2 separate regions of the Homo sapiens genome follow, and region 2 is linked to region 1. The links are contacts of gene promoters, found by promoter capture Hi-C in blood cells and fetal thymus (Javierre and others, 2016). All regions are on one chromosome and are shown on one strand. Each heading gives the region's core, a stretch centred on a gene start or on the middle of the fragment in contact. The rest is flanking DNA. Distances are from core to core; before and after follow the strand shown.

Region 1 (6,202 bases), core at 1,710-4,209:
CTGCTTGGAAGAGACTTGCCAGGGAAGATAGATCTCCCCGCTGCAGCAGGGTCTGGGGGTCAGCTTGGGGCATGGCACCGTAGATTCCAAAGCACAGGCTTGAGCTAGGGCTGGGCAGGGATGGTAGGAGGATCTTTTTAATTTTTTTTAATTTTTATTTTTTGAAACAGGGTCTCGCTCTGTTGCCCAGGCTGGAGTGCAGTAGCGTGATCTTGACTCACTGCAATTTCCGCCTCCTGGGTTCAAGCAATTCTCCTGCCTCAGCCTTCCGAGTAGCTGGGACTATAGGTATGTGCCAACACGCCTGGCTAATTTTTATACTTTTAGTAGAGACGGGGTTTCATCATGTTGCCCAGGCTGGTCTTGAACTCCTGGCTTCAAGCAATCCTCCTGCCTCAGCCTCCCAAAGTGCTGGGAGATGTAGTCTCGCCCTGTCACCCAGGCTGGACTGCAATGGCACAATCTCGGCTCACTGCAACCTCTGCCTCCCGGGTTCAAACGATTCTCCTGCCTCAGCCTCCCGAGTAGCTGGGATTACAGGTGCCCACCACCACACCCAGCTAATTTTTGGATTTTTAGTAGAGATGGGGTTTCACCATGTTGGGCAGGCTGGTGGACATCATATATTAATCTGATTTAATCCTCATGACCCTCTTAGTGCTCATGACAGATCAGGAAACTGAGGCCCAGACATCCCCAATGATACGTAGCCAATAGAGCTGGGGTCAAAGCCCAGATCTGACTCCAAAGAGGATGGCAGGAACAGGATGGGACCATGGATGGGATCCCCATGGTGCCAGTGGTCGCCTGCTTCTGGTGACTGTAGCAGGGGATGCTCCTCCATCCCTCTGGTAGCAGCTCTTAGCACAAATTCTTCCTACAGCAACTTGCAGCTTTCCAGAATCTCCACAACTCAATCTACTCTGACATGTTCCTTGAGCATCTCTCTCTGGGCAAGGCCAGAAAGGCCATCCCTGTTCTTATGATGTGGAGGCTGCCCTGAACAGTGAACCCCGGGACCTGATAGGGGAGGCCCTGATGGCAGAGGAGGAGGAAAGAAAAAACCTCCTGACCTCTTGCAGGGCAGTGGGTTGCTGTGAATGTCTCCACCCAGCAGCACTTGACTCAAAAAGTGGGTCAATGACCTTGCCCCTCCCTGGCTACTGCACAGGAAACATGAGAGTAAAGGTGTCCCAGACCATGACTTTTACTACCCCCGGGCCACGCCCCGGGAATTCCTCTGATGCCTCAGCTCTCCCAGCTCACCAGGGGCTAGAGACAGGCGCTGTTTTGGGGTTGGCCCTACAGGGCCCACATCCCACAAAGACAGGTTCCTCAGAGGCCACGATAGGACCTGCTGAAGTCGGAATGGAGGGGGGCTCTGAGCTAGGACAGCCCCTTTTCGGGTCCTCTCCAAGGTCTAGGTGGGGGTGGAGGTGTCTGGATTTTGGCTCCATCCTAGGTCAGTGTCTGACCTCACCTCACACACACAAGGCTTGGCTGGCCGGAGAGGGCCACCGGATGACGTGGTTCCCTGCAGGTCACTAAACACTGAGTCACAGAGGTGGGGTGAGGCCCCACCTGGGGATCTCAACCTTTGGTCCCCAATGTTGATGAAGCCCAGATGGGAGTCAGGGTCCTCCCACTGACTGTTTCTCCTGTCCCCACCCCTCACAACACCGACTCCCAAGCAATTGCACATAAATCCGTAAACCACCCGTGGGGGCCTGCAGGTGGCAGGCAGAGCCTGGTGTGGGGCCCCTGCCCCCAGTGCTCTGTTCCTTCCTCAGTTCATTTTCTACACTGTCTGGTTTTGTCCCAGGGAACTAGGAAAGCACAGAAGTAATTGTAGCCACGCAATTCCAGAACCACCAACTGCAAGCCGTGGAATCCTGGGAGCTGCAGACACAGAACTCGCATCCACAGGACCCCAGAGCCTCAGGCTGCAGAGCGCAGGCCACAGAGCCCTGGAGCCACAGGCTGATCTGCAGCCGGGAGCATCCCAGAACCACAGGACCCAGACACACAGCCCAGGCAATCCGAGCACCAAGGGACTCAAATCTGCAGCTCACAGAGTCTGCAGAGACCACAGCAGGTAGCGCAGCAATCCTGGAACCATGGGAGGCCCAAGAGCAGCCCACTGCTTTCTAGAACCACAGGAGAGGAACGAGCTGTGGGCTCTCAGCACAGAGCTGGGAGGGTGGCCCCAGAGTTCACCTCCTCCTCCAAACACCTTCCACTTACGTATAGGGCTTGGCCTCTAGGGCCCCGCAGCCAGCGCCCCTGAGCGGCCTCCAGGAGTGAAGAGCCGGCCAAGGCCCTGCCAAGGCTGCAGGGCGGGGACACCCAGTGGGGGACGCCCGGGAGGGGAAACCCTTCGGGCGGGCGGACCCTCGGGCCCCCCGGCGCGCAGGCGCACTCACCGGCCGTGTCGTAGAGGTTCAGGGTCACCTCCTTGCTGCCAACGGTCACGCTGGCCGTGTACTTCTCGAACACCGATGGGGCGTAGTGCTGCGGGAGAGGGGGTCGGGTTGGTCCTTAGTGGGGCCGGCGGGGGCCAAAGTTCCAGCTGAATCCACTGTCCACCCCCCTCACTCGTCCCGGATCAGCCCCCCCTCACCCCGCTGGGCTCTGGAATTCCCGAGGGGGCGCCCCGGGGTGGCGGCCGCCTGTCCGTGCTCGGGACGCTGGGGACTGAGGGTCGGGGCTCTGGGCTCAGGGTAAGGGGCGTCCCTCGCCCCCACCCCAGCCCCGCTGCGGGCCTCACCTCGGGGAAGGAGCCCTGGCTGTACACCATGAGCAGCGAGGTCTTGCCGCAGCCGCCGTCGCCCACGATCACGATCTTCAGCTCCTTCCTGCCCGGACCGGGGGCGGCGGTCTGGGCCAGGGCCCCGGGGGCATCCATTGCCCGGAGCCCGCAGCACTGGCGGCGGCGCGCCGGGCACTAGCGGAGCCAAGAGGTCGGGGGCGGGGCGGGGCCGGAACCAGCCCCGCCCACTCGGAGCAGCGCCGCCTCCGCCAGGCAGCCTCCCGGCCGACCTCCCAGCCTCAGTTTCCTTTCTGCTAAGGTCTCAGCCCTGGGTGTGGGTATTCAGCTCTCAGTCCCAGGGATACTGCAGCACCGGAAAAACGGGGCTCAGCTGCGAGCAAAGCTCCCACCCCCAACCCACCGCCACCCTCCGCGCGTCACGTCGCGCCCCTCGCCGGCGAGACCCGATCGTGGCTGCCCAGCGACTCCAGGTGCCCCTGATTAGCAGGCTCCGCCTTCGGCAGGGACCCTCTGATTGGCTGGCGCGGCCAGACAGGGTCTCCCGGATTGGCTGGCTGTGCCTCCGCACCGGGTTCGAGAAGCCCCCGGCCTCCAGCTCCGGGAAGAGCCCCTCAACTTTGCACTGCCCCAGCGGTGTGGCTTGGCACATGTCCGCCTCTGGCCTCAGCTTCCCCACAGGAGGTAGCGGCGGTGGCACCAGGGAAGATGCTGACGCGAGAGTCATGTCTGCCCACCTCGCCTGGGCCAGGGACGCCAGCGTGCACGCGGGTTCGGGGTGAGGGACTGGGCTCCGCTTACCCGCACCCCGACCCTGGGCTGCAGGGTGGACGTCTGACGCCCTCTGCCGGGCAATCGCCTCGGCGCCGGCCGCTCCGGGCGCAGGTTGGCCCGAAACCACTAGGGGCGGCCGCCTCCTTCCGGCAGGAGCCAGAGGCGTGAACCACGCAAGACGTCGTCAGGGAGGGGCAGGTTGGAGTAGCTCTAGTTGAAGTCAACTTGGTCCCTCTCCTGGAGCTTTGGAGACTGATAACCCCACACCCACCAAGAAATGTAAGAAAATGCGTTTCCTTGCCAGCAGCCACATGTCCTTCATCCCAGGAATCCCCCCAACTCTCCCATCCCCTGATCAAAACAGCTTATTTGTTGAGCACTTACTGTAGGCAGTGCTATCAGGGCTGCTGGCTGAATTACCCGTAACCCCCACCCCTCCTCTTACTCCTCACCCTGGGCGGGCTGACTGCCCTCTGCACCACCCAGATGAGTCGACAGGGTGGCAGAGGGACCCCCCCCTGGAGCCGGTCCACGGCAGACAGGCACGAGAGCATGGCCGAGAGTGGGATCCTACCAGCTGGGGTAGGAAGAGCCCATTTCTAACAAAACCCCCAACAGCAGCATGGTTGGGGGCAAGTGGCCTTCGTAGTTTCCTCAGATAGGGGCTGGCAGGACTCAGGATCTTTTTGCTGGCGACCCCACCCCGAAGACTCCCAGTTTTCAAGGTCTCGGCAAGGGTCATGTAAACCTCACTTCGTGGAGGAAAACCGCCAACCTGGCAGTTCCATGGTCAAGGTTCTCACAGTGCAAGCAAGGCACGGTCTGACCACCAGAGGGCAGCAGCGACCGCCCACAGAATCCCAAGACCACAGCAGAGCTGGGAAGGGGAGGCCGGGGAGGCACCCCAGGTTCTCAGTGGACGCCCTCTTCAGGCACTGGGCAAAGGGTAATCTCCTGGGTCAAGCACCCCCTAGACAAATGCACAGCAACTCATCCATTCCTTTTTTGCAACACGTTTATTGAGAGGCAGTTGTGCTCCAGCCTTCCAGGAGGTCACAGTCTTAGGGGAAGCAGTGCAATGGAGGTTGGAAGCAGGGGAACCCTTTACTGAAGGCTGAGCGCTGGCTGGCACACTAGGCCTGGCAGCACTGGAGGGCAGGCAGGGAAAGTAGGGTGGGTAACCCAGCCTGGCAAATGCACGGCAGCTAGAAAACCTCTTCAGGTTCTGGGGTGGCTGGGCCATGAGAGGGGAGGCCAGGCAGGGCTGTCAAGGTAACCGGGGTCAGATCATGGAGTTGCCTGCCAGGCTCCACAGGAGTGGGGGACAGAAGCAGAGCAACCCAGCTACCAGCCGGGCCCTGAGCTCCCTCAGGGTGACCAGGGAGGAGCTGTGACTGGCTGGGGAGGCAGGGCTGGGGCCGAGGTTCCCCAGGACGACAGGAGGGAGCCAAGGCACTCTAAGAGGTGGAAGAAGAGGACCAGAAGCTGGTGAGTGCATCACTGGAGCCCATAGGAGGGCTCCTGACTGTCCTCAAAAGCCTCAGACCTCAGTGTCCACTTTCTCCATCCAAGAAATGGGGCTGTGATCTCTGCTTATGACAGCACAAGCTTGCACAGAAGTGGAGGCGGGAAATAAGCACAAGTGTGCCTTCCCAGCCCGGCCTGGGTCCAGGCAGAACAGCTGATACTGGCCCCAGTCTGCCCACCCACCCCTGCTGGCCAGGAGGCTGGCAGAACCCCAGCCCCACCTGCCTGGAGCGCGTTTGATTTGGACTCGACTGTTGTGGTGATGGAGGGGGGCTGGATCTGTAGCTAAAAATACCTCGGAGCCAAGCCAGCTGCTCAGAGCTTCCTCGGAGGCTGGGCCGCGCTGGGCCCACTGAGGAACTGGGCATGCCCACCCAGGAGGTAGCTCCCTTACCTGCTAGAGGTTGAGGGCCTGAGTCACTCCCCCTTCCAGTCACCAGGAATTCCTGGAGAGTTTGAGAAAGCAAGAAAGATTCTTTAAGCTGGTTCCTGACACAACAGCTGTTAGGCCACTGAAGCCTGGGGGAGCGGCCGGGTGGCATTTGTGGGGTCAGCTCATCGGTGTCCACACAGGGGCCTATGCCATAGTGCGGCCAACAGGGAAACTGAGCCCTGGAGAGTTGCAGGGGCCCAGCCACTGCTGTGTTGTCAGAGCAAAGTCCAGCCAGCCCCAGTGAGGCTGGAGGCAACGCTGTGGCACCCACTTCCCTGGATGCCTGAGAACCCTGCAGAGGGGCCACCCACATGAGGCAGAAGACACTCAGCCTTCAGGGATGAAGCTACTCCCTGAGGTCCCAGGGACGGGAGCTGGCCTGGCAAATACATCTACCCTGCCTGAGCAGTCCCCAGGCCTTGGCTGCCCATGAGCACTCGGGGACAGGCCAGAGACAAGGCCACTCCTTGAGTGCTAAAAGTTCCCGTCACAAAAGCCAGACTCAGCAACAGCTCAAAACATTATTGTCCGGCCAGGCGCGGTGGCTCATGCCTGTAATCCCAGCACTTTGGGAGGCCGAGGTGGGCGGATCACCTGAGGTCAGTTTGAGACCAGCCTGACCAACATGGAGAAACCCTGTCTCTACTAAAAATACAAAATTATCCGGGCGTGGTGGCACATGCCTGTAATCCCAGCTACTC
Region 2 (6,202 bases), core at 2,083-4,582, 240 kb before region 1:
GAAGCCAGTGACCACCTTTCTTCACAGCCACCTCAACAGGTTACAGGTTAAACCAGCCAAAGGCCACCATATGATGACAGCCCAAGGGCCAAATCCAGCCTACGGCCTATCATTGTGTGACCCAGAAGTTAAGAATTTTTTAACTTTCCTTTTTACTCTGTTGCCCAGACTGAGATCATGCAGTGGCACAATCTCGGCTCACTGCAACCTCCACTTCCTGGGTTCAAGCAATTCTCATGCCTCAGCCTCCTGAATAGCTGGGATTACAGGCATGTGCTACCACACCTTGCTAAGTTTTATATTTTTAGTAGAGATGGGGTTTCGCCATGTTGGTCAGGCTGGTCTTGAACTCCTGACCTCAAGGGATCCACCCACCTCAGCCTCCCAAAGTACTGGGATTACAGGCATGAGCCACCGCAACTGGCCTAGATTTTTTTTTCCCTACAATAGCCATACGTTTTGAGGGGTTTTCCATTTTTGTTAACGGAGGGGGAAAAATCAAAAGAAGAATACTATTTTGTGATATGAAAACTATATGAAACCCAAATTCTCAGGTCCATTTACAAAGCTTTCCTGGGGCACAGCCACGGTCATCGGTTCACATATTGTATAGGGCTGGCTCCGTGCGACAATGGCAGAGCTAAGTAGTTGCAACAGACCAAATGGCCTGAAAACCCGTAAGTATTTACTCTCTGGCACTTAACAGAGAAAGTTTGCTGGCCCTTGAACTAGACAGAACTCTCATGGAACTTAGATGTTGATATGGGTAATAGTCTCATCCCGTTCACTGAACCTGCCCTCTAACAGGCCCGTGGTCAATATTTGTTGAATAAATAAACATAGCCTTTCATGTGGTCGGAACTGAAAAATAAAAGTAACTCTGTGTAATCCCAGCACTTAGAAAAGCAGAGGTGGGAGGATGGTGCTTGAGCCTGGGAGTTTGAGACCAGCCTGGGGAACACAGCAAGATTCCATTCTTTTTTTTTTTTTTTTTTTGAGACAGGGTCTCGCTCTGTCACCCAGGCTGGAGAGCAATGGCACGATCGTGGCTCACTGCAGCCTCAACCTCCCTGGCTCGAGGGATCCTCCAGCCTCAGCCTCCTGAATAGCTGGGACTACAGGGCGGCACCACCACATCCAACCAGGTTTTTATTTTTTGTAGAGACAGGGTTTTGGTTTTCTTTGTTTGGTTGGTTGGTTTTTGAGACAAAGTCTCGCTCTGTCGCCCAGGTTGGAGTATAGTGGCACAATCTCAGCTTACTGCAACCTCCACCTGCGGGGTTCAAGTGATTCTCCTGCCTCAGCCTCCCGAGCAGCTGGAATTAAGGGCGTGCACCACCGCACCCGGCTCTTTTTCGTATTTTTAGTAGAGATGGAGTTTCGCCATATTGGCCAGGCTGGTCTTGAACTCCTGACCTCAAGTGATCCGCCCGCCTCAGCCTCCCAAAGTGCTGGGATTACAGGTGTGAGCCACCGCGCCCAGCATGACAGGGTTTCATTAAGTTGCCCAGGCTGGGAGACCACATTCTCCACAAAAAGGAAACAAAAAAAGAAAGTAACACCTTAAGTATGTAAGAGAACTTGGGTATTTCTATCTTTTGGGTTCAAGATCTAAATTTCACAGCAACCTGGAAAAGCAAGGTGAGACAGTCTGTTTTACAAATGGGGAGACCAAGGCCCAGAGACACAGCAACTGGCTCAAGCTCCCCAGAGTAGACTCTTACTACCAATTACAACCATTACCATTTACTATGTGTGTCAGCACAGGCGGGTTCTCTACATATATTATCTTGTGTTAGGTTCATCGTGGTCACAGCTCTGTGAAGCAGAACTTCAATTACACCCATTTAATGGAGGAGAAGCTGAGACTTGGACAACTAACTCGCCCAGGAATGCCCAATTCGTGAGTGGCAGAGTGGTATTTGAATCCAATTCATTCTAATGCCTAAGCCCAGGTTCCTCTCCCATCCCCCGAATACTGAATCTTGATCGTATGCTAAGGTTGAAACATGACCCCAGACCTGGCCAAGTGCAGTGGCTCATGCCTGTAATCCCAGCACTTTTGGAGGCCGAGATGGGTGGATCACCTGAGGTCAGGAGTTCAAGACCAGCCTGGCCAACATGGCAAAACCCTATCTCTACTAAAAATACAAAAATTAGCCAAGTATGGTGGCACACGTCTGTAATCCCAGCTACTTGGGAGGCTGAGGTAGGAGAATTGCTTGAACCCAGGAGGTGGAGGTTGCAGTGAGCTGAGGTCGTGCCATTGCACTCTAGCCTGGGTGACATGGTGAGACTCTGTCTTAATTAAAAAAAAAAAAAAAAAAGATTCCAGACCACAGCAGTGGCCAGGTCCCTCCCCATGGACCCTAGGAAGCAGTGGATCCAGGGGAAAGCAGCTTTTGTTTTGGCGTCTGGAGTGCAGATCCACCAGGGGGCATCCCCGTTCTTCGCTGGATATTCTGGCCTTGATCTTGGCAAGGCTAGCTCCTTCCTTACCCAGGTGCCTGGAATACGTGGGCGCCACTCAGATTTTCCAGGAGGCCCACCTGGCAGAAACCCTGCTGTCAGAACCCCAGTACCAGCCGGGCACGGTGGCTCACGCCTGTAATCCCAGCACTTTGGGAGGCTGAGGCGGGCAGATCATGAGGTCAGGAGATTGAGACCATCTTGGCTAACACGGTGAAACCCCGAGAATACTAAAAATACAAAAAATCCGCCGGGTGTGGTGGCGGGCGCCTGTAGTCCCAGCTACTTGGGAGGCTGAGTCAGGAGAATGGCGTGAACCCGGGAGGCGGGGTTGCAGCGAGCCGAGATCGCGCCACTGCACTACAGCCTGGGCGACAGAGCAAGACTCTGTCTCAAAAAAAAAAAAGAAAGAAAGAACCCCGGTACCCTCCCCACTCTCGCTCTCTGGCCAGCCTCCCACCTCCACCCACTTCTCCTCCCTAATCTTGCTCAAGGTCATGTCTGCAAAGCTCCCTGTGCAAAGGAGTCTGCTGGGCAGGTAGCAAATAGGATAAAGAGCACTAAAATCACGAACCCAGAGTCCTGCAAGTCAGCACTGAAGGCCAAGCTCAGCTACCCCTACCCACACACTGTTAAAATTTAGAGGGTTCGGTTCCCAGCGGAGCCTCCAGCCTGTGCCTCGGGCTCTTGGCTTCTCTGGGAATCAGTTTCTTCTTCATCTATAACATGGGGAACAAATAGCCAGCCCAGGAGCTGTCCTGAGACATAACTGAGTTCATGCACTTCACACTCACTTGGAGCACCTACAGGTAGGTAGCGTTACCGAGTCGGTCAGTTTCATCTGTAACTAGAGGTGGAGAAGGTGAGGAGCTGGGAAGTTTAGGGACTTGCCCAGCATCACAGCCAGTTAAATCGTTGCTGGCCAGTCCCAGTGAACAGACTGCTTAGGACCCTACAACATATTCAAGATGCAAATGGGTGTGGGGTTCTTCTGGGGAATGATGAAAAAGTTCTAAAATGGACTTTCATAATGGTTGCACAGCTCTGTGAATATACTGAAAACAAGTGAATTGTGGCCGGCCTTGGTGGCTGGTGGCTCACACCTGTAATCCCAACAGTTTGGGAGACAGAGCTGGAAGGAGCGCTGGGCCCTAGAAGTTTGAGATCAGCCTGGGTAATATAGTGACACCCCAGCTCCACACACACACACACACACACACACACACACACACACACACACACACACACAAATTGGCCAAGCATGGTGACCCACACCGGTGGTCCCAGCTACTCTGAAGGCTGAAGTGGGAGGACTGCTTGAGCGTCAGGAGGTTGAGGCTCCAGTGAGCCATGATCGTGCCACTGCACTCCAGCTTGGGCAACAGAGCCAGATCCTGTCTCAAAAAAAAAAAAAGTGGGGTGAAATGAATTGTATGGTCTGTGACTTATATTTCAATGAAACTTTTTACTTTTTTAAAATGGAGAGTCTCAGAGATGGCAAGTAATCTGGGAGTGTTTCCAAATAAATGTATACCTTGTATATATCATGATACTTGCCCTTTGTAACATACTTTTTTTTTTTTTTGAGACAAAGTCTCTCTTTTGTCCCCCAGGCTGGAGTGCGATGGCGATGGCGCGATCTCGGCTCACTGCAACCTCTGCCTCCCAGGTTCAAGCGATTCTCCTGCCTCAGCCCCCCGAGTAGCTGGGATTACAGGCGCCTGCCACCACGCCCAGCTAATTTTTGTATTTTCAGTAGAGACGGGGTTTTACCATGTTGTCCAGGCTGGTCTAGAACTCCTGACCTCAGGTGATCCACCTGCCTCAGCCTCCCAAAGTGCTGGGATTACAGGCGTGAGCCACCGCACCCGGCCTGTAACATACTTTAAATTAACACTTTTATACTCTCATTTAATCCCAGGTATATATACCTCTCTCACATGCACACAGGTATTAATCCACAAGTTATGATTTTCAGTCTTAGTCCAAATGTGGACCAGAAAAAACAAAAGAACATCTGCATCTGGGATTCATGCAGCACTCAAATATTTGATGAATGCAAGAGTAGGCTGAGTGTGGTGACTCACACCTGTAACCCCAACACTTTGGGAAGCTGAAGCAGGAGGATCACTTAAGCCCAGGAGTTCAAGACCAGCCTGGATAACATGTCAAGACCCCATCTCTACAAAAAATTTAAAAATTATCTGTGCATGTTGGCAGACACCAGTATTCCCAGCTACTTGGGAGGATCACTTGAGCCTGGAAGGCAGAGGCTACAGTGAGCAATGGCTGTGCCACTGCACTCCAGCCTAGGTGACAGAGTGAGACTCTATCTTAAAAAATAAAAAATTTTAAAAAACAGTAGATAGCAATCCTATTTTATAAAAAATGGATACCAATTTAAAATAATGTTTAATCATATCATTTAGTTATGAGGATATAGTAATTTACAAAATTATACCTTAAGACCCTGAAAATGTTATTTATTTTGCAAGTGTCAAAGTATCAAAAAAGAAAGAATAACTAGTCTGGGGTAATTTTATTTTTTTCTTTTGAGACAGAGTCTCGCTCTGTCTCCCAGGCTAGAGTGCAGTGGCACGATCTCAGCACACTGCAACCTCCACCTCCCTGGTTCAAGTAATTCTTGTGCCTAAACCACCAAAGTAGCTGGGATTACAGGCGTGGGCCACCATACCCGGCTAATATTTGTATTTTTTGTAGGGACGGGGTTTCGCCATATTGCCCAGGCTGGTGTCAAACTCCTGGGCTCAAGTCATCTGCCCACCTAGGCCTCCCAAAATGTCTGAGATTATAGGCGTGAGCCACCACACCTGGCCAAAATTTTTTATAAGAATATAAATAAGTAAGTGATATAGTTTGGATATTTTTCCCCCCCAAATCTCAAATCTCATGTTGAAACATGAATATCTCTCAAATATCTCCAATGTTAGAGGTAGGAATTGGTGTGTGGTGTTTGGGACGTGAGGGTGGATCCTTCACGAATGCCTTGGTACCCTCCTTGCATAAAGAGTGAATTCCCACTCTATTAGTTCCCATGAGACTGAATTGGGTTTTTGTTTTGTTTTTTTTGTTTTTTGTTTTTTTTTTGAGACGGAGTCTCACTCTCTCACCTACACTGGAGTACAGTGGCACGATCTCGGCTCACTGCAACCTCTGCCTCCCAAGTTCAAGAGATCCTCCTGCCTCAGCCTCCCGAGTAGCTGGGACTACAAGAACGCACCACCACGCCTGGCTAATTTTTTGTATTTTAGTAGAGATGGGGTTTCACCATGTTGGCCAGGCTGGTCTTGAACTCCTGACATTGTGATCTGCCCTCCTCAGCCTCCCAAAATGCTGGGATTACAGGGGTGAGCCACTGCACTCGGCCTGTTTTTTGTTTTTTGAGACAAAGCCTCACTCTGCTCATTAGGCTGGAGTGCAGTGGCTTGAACATGGCTCACTGTAGCCTCAAACTCCTGGGCTCAAGCGATCCTCCTACCTCAGCCTCCCAAATAGCTGGGGCTACAGGCTGGATTATTTAGAAGCATTTGGCACCTCCCTCCTCTCTCTCTTGCTCCCTCTGTGGCTATGTGACACACCAGCTCACCCTCCCCTTCCATCATGACTGGAAGCTTCCTGAAGTCCTCACCAGAAGCAGATGCTGGCTCCATGCTTCCTGTACAGCCTGCAGAGCTGAATCAAATAAACCTTTCTTTATAAATAATCCAACCCA

What was found. The method cuts DNA at HindIII sites, captures the fragments that hold promoters and counts their contacts. A CHiCAGO score of 5 or more calls a contact.
Region 2: a fragment that was not itself captured here is called in contact with the fragment with the promoter of RHOF in region 1 in 2 of 17 cell types (naive CD8 T cells and activated CD4 T cells); the score reaches 5.7 in naive CD8 T cells.

The regions. Positions count from the first base shown.
Region 1 is chr12:121,790,729-121,796,930 of GRCh38, forward strand. It overlaps RHOF (ras homolog family member F, filopodia associated), which reads right to left and starts at 2,960. Exons shown (of 5, transcript NM_019034.3): 1 at 2,768-2,960; 2 at 2,424-2,511. The coding sequence starts at 2,905. LINC01089 (long intergenic non-protein coding RNA 1089) reads right to left here. Exons shown (of 4, transcript NR_152740.1): 4 at 4,539-5,514. It also overlaps a transcript of SETD1B not described here. RefSeq lists enhancers at 2,031-2,862, 2,868-3,408, 3,355-3,404, 3,949-4,489, 4,785-4,954 and a silencer at 2,335-2,874. The HindIII fragment of the contact is 6,952 bases long and covers 1-5,147 here.
Region 2 is chr12:121,550,368-121,556,569 of GRCh38, forward strand. All of the region lies in intron 4 of KDM2B (lysine demethylase 2B), which reads right to left. Among named protein-coding and RNA genes, the nearest start is that of KDM2B-DT, 27 kb to the right of the region's middle. The HindIII fragment of the contact is 5,533 bases long and covers 567-6,099 here.